2 separate regions of the Homo sapiens genome follow, and region 2 is linked to region 1. Evidence: promoter capture Hi-C in 16 types of primary human blood cells and fetal thymus (Javierre and others, 2016). All regions are on one chromosome and are shown on one strand. Each heading gives the region's core, a stretch centred on a gene start or on the middle of the fragment in contact. The rest is flanking DNA. Distances are from core to core; before and after follow the strand shown. Region 1 holds the start of DCDC2C (doublecortin domain containing 2C). Region 2 overlaps LOC105373404 (a long non-coding RNA gene).

Evidence for each region. The method cuts DNA at HindIII sites, captures the fragments that hold promoters and counts their contacts. A CHiCAGO score of 5 or more calls a contact.
Region 2: a contact is called between a fragment that was not itself captured here and the fragment with the promoter of DCDC2C in region 1, in 1 of 17 cell types (M2 macrophages). The highest score is 5.8, in M2 macrophages.

What each region holds. Positions count from the first base shown.
Region 1 is chr2:3,702,189-3,705,664 of GRCh38, forward strand. It overlaps DCDC2C (doublecortin domain containing 2C), which reads left to right and starts at 1,387. Exons shown (of 11, transcript NM_001287444.2): 1 at 1,387-1,850. The coding sequence starts at 1,564. ALLC (allantoicase) reads left to right here. Exons shown (of 12, transcript NM_018436.4): 12 at 175-483. The coding sequence ends at 375. It overlaps LOC105373393 (a long non-coding RNA gene), which reads right to left and starts at 1,312. Exons shown (of 3, transcript XR_922732.1): 1 at 1,271-1,312; 2 at 620-926; 3 at 372-451. The HindIII fragment of the contact is 3,644 bases long and covers 1-2,657 here.
Region 2 is chr2:6,783,501-6,786,832 of GRCh38, forward strand. The region is part of intron 3 of LOC105373404 (a long non-coding RNA gene); the gene reads right to left. Among named protein-coding and RNA genes, the nearest start is that of LINC00487, 15 kb to the left of the region's middle. The HindIII fragment of the contact is 1,919 bases long and covers 642-2,560 here.

The sequences.
Region 1 (3,476 bases), core at 137-2,636:
GCATCCTATCCCTACTAGCAGATTTTCATGGAAAGCCCAATTATCATCAATTAATAACTTATTTTAAAGCCCCTTCGGTTAAGTCTAAGCCAAAGGTTTGCCCGGGCCGTGGGCTCATTCGGCCACACATGTCCTGTTAACAGACTAGGACCTCTGCATCTGCTTGCTTTTCAGTTGTCTCCCAACCAAAGTCATCTGTTCGATAGCCTGACCCTAGAGCTCCAAGATGTCATCACTCACGCCAGGCTCACCATCGTCCCCGACGGGGGAGTGAGCCGCCTTCGGCTCCGGGGCTTCCCCAGCTCCATCTGCCTCCTGAGGCCCCGGGAGAAGCCCATGTTGAAGTTCTCGGTGAGCTTCAAAGCAAACCCTTAACACACACAAAGCCCCGGTGTCGGACACACAGCAGTAATTTCCCAGTCATAGTCTTCTTTTCAAATGTTTTGAACACCTGGTGATTTAATAAAGTGGTCGTCTCACAAATTGATCTCTGTATTTAATGTTGCTATGAGGCATTTAGTAGCTTACATACTGGCTATGGCTGTGACTGGTGGTCTCTACGGAACTACTTTTTTTGAACATTATAAGATATTAATACTCATAATATCAATATCTGTACCTTCGGTGTGGACTTCCAGCCGTAACATGTAGCCTACTGACTGTCTAGAATCACTCAAGGGGACTGGCCTATCTTTACCCAGAGTAGGAACGATTCTTCCAAAGACCCCCTCTCCCTTTGAATCATTCCCCAATGAGGATGCGTTCTGAATGGCACGCGCCTGACACCGCACACCAGCGGCTATAGCGCGGTTCCTCACGGCCTCCCAGTGGCTCTGCACACCTCCTCCTCTGGTGGAAAAGCTCAAATTCCCCACTCTGGGCCAGGAGTCCTGGAAGACACTGGGGCTGAACCGGTCAAATTCAACCTAAGATCAAAGAAACAGAGGCTCAAAAAATGTGAAGCAGATCCCAGCACCCATCCAATGTTGATTGTCAAGATGGTCCTGGTCCCTCCCTAACCCTCCTCTCTACCGCTTCTACAGAGGAAGGCGGCGAGTGTAGGGGGAGGAGGCACGGTGGGCGTCCCGGGGCGCTCAGCACAATCATGCTAGCCGCCTCCTCCTCCTCTTTTCCTGAGCTCTGCCGCCACGCCCCTCACCTGCCCGGGCTCCCCGTTGCCCCCTCACCTGTCTCCGCCCTGTGCCGCGCCTCACCTGCTTGGGCTCCCCATTACCCAATCACCTGTCCCTGCCCCGTGCCGCCTGCTCACCTGCCCGGGTTCCCCGTCGCCCCGTCTCCTGCCCCGGCCCCGAGCCCCTCGCCCTGGCGGCCAGGCGGTCACAATCGCCCAGGGTCGCGTCAACACGCAGCCTCCGCCCGCCTGGCAGCCCCGTCCCGTCCCCGTCCAGCCCCCGTCCCGTCCCCGTCCCGTCCCCGTCCTGCGCCAGCGGCTGGAGCGGACCTCCCGTCGGCGGTGCCCGGGCCTGGGCGCGGCTCTGCAGGCGTCGCTGCCCGCGCTGCCGCAGCCTCTCGGCCCCGGCGAGCGAGGAGCGGGGCGCGGCTATGGGAACCCGCGGGCCCTCCGCGCCGGTGGACACCACGCCCGCCAAGACCATCGTGGTGTACCGCAACGGGGACCCGTTCTACGTGGGCAAGAAGTTCGTGCTGTCGCGGCGCCGCGCGGCCACCTTCGAGGCGCTGCTGGAGCAGCTCACGGAGCAGGTGGACGTCCCGTTCGGCGTGCGCCGCCTCTTCACGCCCACGCGTGGGCACCGGGTGCTGGGGCTGGACGCGCTGCAGGCGGGCGGCAAGTACGTGGCGGCGGGCCGCGAGCGCTTCAAGGAGCTCGAGTAAGTGCGCCCGCGCCCCCCACGCGCCCTGCGCCCCTCCCCGCCCTCTTGGGTCTGAGCGTGGTCAGGGCCGTGCCCCCCAGGTGTCCTCCCCAGGCTTCCCTCCCGGCTCGGGCGCCCATCTTTCGGCGTGGATCCAGCGCAGCCGGCGTCGGGCCGCCCCAGGCCACGTGGTTTCCTGGGGGCGAAGCCGAGGCAGCCCCGCCCCCAGGGTCCCTTCCTATGGGGCAGGGCGGGCCCTGGCCGGCAGCGATTCAGGACCGCCCCAGAGACGGCCAGGAGGGCGTGGGGGAGGGGCGTGGGGCAGAAACAGGGGTGTGGAGGAGGGCGTGGGGGAGGGGTGTGGAGAGGGGCGTGGGGGGCGTGGGGGAGGGGTGTGGAGAGGGGCGTGGGGGAGGGGTGTGGAGAGGGGCATGGGGGAGGGGTGTGGAGAGGGGCGTGGGGGGCGTGGGGAGGAGTGTAGGGGAGGGGGAGGGGGGAGGGGCGTGGGGGAGGGGCATGGGGCAGAAACGGGTGTGGAGGAGGGCATGGGGGAGGGGTGTGGAGAGGGGCGTGGGGGGCGTGGGGGAGGGGTGTGGAGAGGGGCGTGGGGGAGGGGTGTGGAGAGGGGCATGGGGGAGGGGTGTGGAGAGGGGCGTGGGGGGCGTGGGGAGGAGTGTAGGGGAGGGGGAGGGGGGAGGGGCGTGGGGGGGAGGGGCGTGGGGGGCAGGGCCTGGGAATGGGGCGGGTTGGGCAGTTCCCATTTGAAATCGCTCAGGGTGACCCCTCTCACTCTGTGTCCATCACTTGGTCCTGCGTGCATTTTCAAGCTTGCCTTTAATTAAACTATTGCCCTCCCACGGTTTGTGTCTGTAATCCCATTATTGCAGCCTGTGTCTGCTTTCTGTGATCTCAGCTGCTTTTCTCTCCTGATTCTCTGTTTCCTTGTAGGTTTACTTATTTTTTGACTGTGAACTACTCCTTTTGTATAGCTTTGTGTGGGGACATTCTTCAGGGCTGAGATAAAAGTGAGATTCCCCAGAGAGAATTTCCATTTTCTTCTTTCAAATGCTCTCCGTTCAAAAATGCTCTGAATTAAATCAGCAGCTTGAGTTTTGTTTGTTGTTTTTTGAAAAAGTAGTAGGATTTAGTATGAGGGCTGGTGTATGGTTCCAAATTCTTAGTGGCATTTGCAAAGATGTGAATTTACCATTCAGTTGTTTCTGAAGAAAAGTCGTAAGTCACAGGCATCACAGTTGCTAAGAGGTAGAATCTGGATTAGCATATTTCAGATTGAAATTTATTACTATGATAATCCTGTTATGTATTAGAATTCATGGACAAAATTATATTCCTTTATAGCCATGTGATTTGTGATTATTTTTTCCAAGCTAGTCAGATGGTGTGAATATCTAGAACTGACATCCTACCCAGGATCCAGTGTTCAGTGCTGATTTACAATTAAAGAATATATCTCTACAAAAACTGCCTTTAAAGTCCCTTTCGATACATATATAATGAAAAGTATTTAATTTTATCCCAAGACATTTTCTTGTAAAATTGGCCTGTGTTTTACATGTTAGCAAATGAGGAAGGAAACGTATCAAGCACCTGCCACGAAGCCTGGAGTGTGCCTGGGAGATGTTA
Region 2 (3,332 bases), core at 351-2,850, 3.1 Mb after region 1:
TGAAAGAGCACCGCACCAAGAGTCAGAAGAGCCGACCTCACGTCCTGCGTGACCTTGAGGCATCCCTCATCTGGGCATCCACACTTGCAAAGGGAACGTCCTCACTCTGGCACTTCAGAAGGTGTTGCCAGGTACCGTAAGGAAGCAGATGCCAGGCACAGTGCAAACATAAACCCTCTGTTGAATGAAGAGTTCAATGAATAAGCAAAGAAATGAGTGCATTTGCAAATTATAAAATATTTAACAAATGTAATAAATCAGCATATCAATATAAGGAACTGGTATATCAGTGTAAGAACAGATTTTCTGGCTTTACACTTGAGTGAAATGGTAGATTAGTGCTTTATCATTATTCCTCAGCTATACAGAAACAAACTGATAAAAACCAGAGAGAAAAAGAGAGTGAGAAAGAGGAAGCATGAGGGCACACCAGTGAAGATGCAGGAGAAGGGAAGGGACCACGGTGTGCAGTGCTGGCTCAGTGTGTGTCAACCTGCGTGCATGGTTTCCATGTAGCCTCTCACTTGCTCTGCACTGCAATGCAAGGTGGTAAAATTGCTTTTGTTTTAATTTGACATACAAGGAAAGTGAAATTAAATCACCTATGTAAAGTCACACAGGAAAAAGCAGGGAAACAGATAAGCTTGGCCACGGATCTGTGGACCACCTTTTATACCTCCTTAAAATGTTGTGCTCCACTGCCTCATGCATCTTCCCAAGGGAAGATGTTAACACACTTGAAAAATTTAGAGTGCTATAGGAAGAAGAGGTGGTTTTCTCACAGGCTAAGTTACAAATATGACCCCAGGAGAGATAAAGAGAAGGGAGGAACCTCTCCTCCCTGTAAAAGCTCACAGTATAAACTCTAAAATGTCAAGAAGAGTTAGCTAAAATGGTGGCAAACAGCAGAAAAGGGACAATACAGCATTTGAGAAGAAAATTCAGGCAGTAAGGCTAAAACTTCCCGCCAAGGATTACCTCATTTACCAACAAAGATTATGAAATCATTGCTTGAGGCAATCTGGGCAAACATGATGAAGGCAATTAAGAGGACTTAATCCATACAGCTTGAACTTTGCATGTCAGTCAGGGTTCTCCAGAGAAACAGAAGCAATAAGAAAGATAGAGGATGATATGGTTTGGCTCTGTTTCCCCGCTCAAATCTCACCTTGAATTGTAATATTTCTCATGGGTTGTGGGAGAGACCCAGTGGAAGGTAACTGAATCATGGGGGTGGGTTTTTCCCAGGCTGTTCTCATGATAGTGAATAAGTCCCACGAGATCTGATGGTTTTATAAAAGGGAGCTCCCCTGCACATGCCCTCTTTCCTGCCACCACGTAAGATGAGATTTTTCTCCTCTTTGCCTTCCACCATGATTGTGAGACCTCCCCAGCTAATTAAAGTGTGAGTCAATTAAGCCTCTTTCCTTTATAAATTACCCAGTCTCAGGTATGTCTTTATAAGCAGCATGAGAACAGACTAATACAGATGATAGCTATATAGAGATAGATAGATAGATAGATAGATAGATAGATAGATAGATAGATAGATATAGATGGATGGATAGATAAATGTAGACAGACTGATTGATTATTAGAATGGACTCATGAGATCATGAGGTAATTCAGTCTGAGTTCAAAGGCCTGAGTACTGATAAATGGGTAGATGGTTGGGGGATGGGGCAATGGTGTAACTCTCAGTCGAGTCTGAAGGCCTGAGAATTGGGGGGACACTGGTGTAAGACTCTGAGTTCGAAGGCCCATGAACCAGGAGCTCCAATGCATAAGGACGACAGAGGATGGATGACTCAACTTAAGCAGAGAGAGGGAACTCACCCTACCTCTTCCTTTTTGCTCTAGCCAGGCCCTCAATGGATTGCCTGATGCCCATCCGCTTTGGTGAGGCTGGGTCTTCTTTACACAGTTCACCAATCTGAAGGTGAATCTCTTCTGGAAACACCCTCACAGACACACCCAGAAATACAGTTTTACCAGCTCTCTGGGCATCTCTTAGCCCCGTCAAGTTGATACACAAACTTAGCCATTATACTTGGCCAATACCCAGATAGACAGCATCTGTTCATGACTGTTCCTAGGGTTCTGTTTGGGATGAACATCTGCAGTGTATACGCAGCCCTGACGCATAGCCCTCCCCACAGTCCTGTGTGAAAGCACAGTGAGGAGGAAGCAGGGAGGCAGGATATGGGCCAAGTGGGAAGGGAAGGCCCAAGGAAAGGGCCAGGGACAGGGAGTTTGCATCTGCTGCAGCTGGCTCCACACAGGGGCCTTCTGAGCTCACATGGTGATATAGTTTGAATACATGTTCCCGCCAAATCTCATGTTGAATTTTAATCCCCAGTATTGGAGGTGGGGCCTGGTGGGAGGTGATTGGACCATGGAGATAGATTTATTGTAAATAGTTTAGCAGTATCCCCTTGGTCCTGTCCTCACAATAAGTCAGTGAGTTCTTGCGAGTGTGTGGCACCTCCCCCGTGCTCTCTTGCTCCTGCTATCGCCCTGTGATGCACCTGCTCCCCATTCAACTCCCTTCATGATTTTAAGCTTCTTGAGGCCTCCCCAGAAGCAATGCCAGTGCTATGTTTTCTATATACAGCCTATAGAATCATGAGCCAATTAAATCTCTTTTCTTTATAAATTACCCAGCCTCAGGTATTTCTATATAGCAGTGCAAAAGTGACCTAATACACACCGGCTGAGGACTAGACCTCCAAAGCCCATGTGTGAACATGACTGGTCCAGATGGCAGCAGCCCAGCCAGGGGAGGGCCAGCCCCTCCCTAGGAGCACAAGGCCACATGTTGAGGGGCCCTGACACCCTGACCATGCCAAGACTTATTTTTCGGAAAAATACGTACACAGCAGAAGCCCGGGAGCCTTGTCCCAGTGCCTCCTTCCATTGCAACTTGAACTTGGAATAAATTATCAAGTCCCATTGCTCTCTCAGTTTCCCATCACACATAAACACCCCTCACTCCCTTCATAATCTAAAGCCAAAGACCTAGGAGGATGGGTTATGTTTGCAGGAGATATGAAATCACGACACTGAGAGAGAAGCAAAGTAGAAAATAAGAAGGAAAAGAAAAGGTGCCTGCTCCCCTACTCTCTCCTCTCTCTTGCATCCCAAACCAGCACAGATGACTCCCACATCTTTGAAGGTCACTTTCACATCTCTGGGTTTTGCTAAAGGACCACCCTCAGCAAATCCCTGCAATCCCTGTCTCCTATTATCCCACTCCCTTTCTGCATCCCATATCTCCCCTTTTCCAAATCTGAAGGATCCTTCAAGGCCCTTTTCAAACACTGCCCCTACCC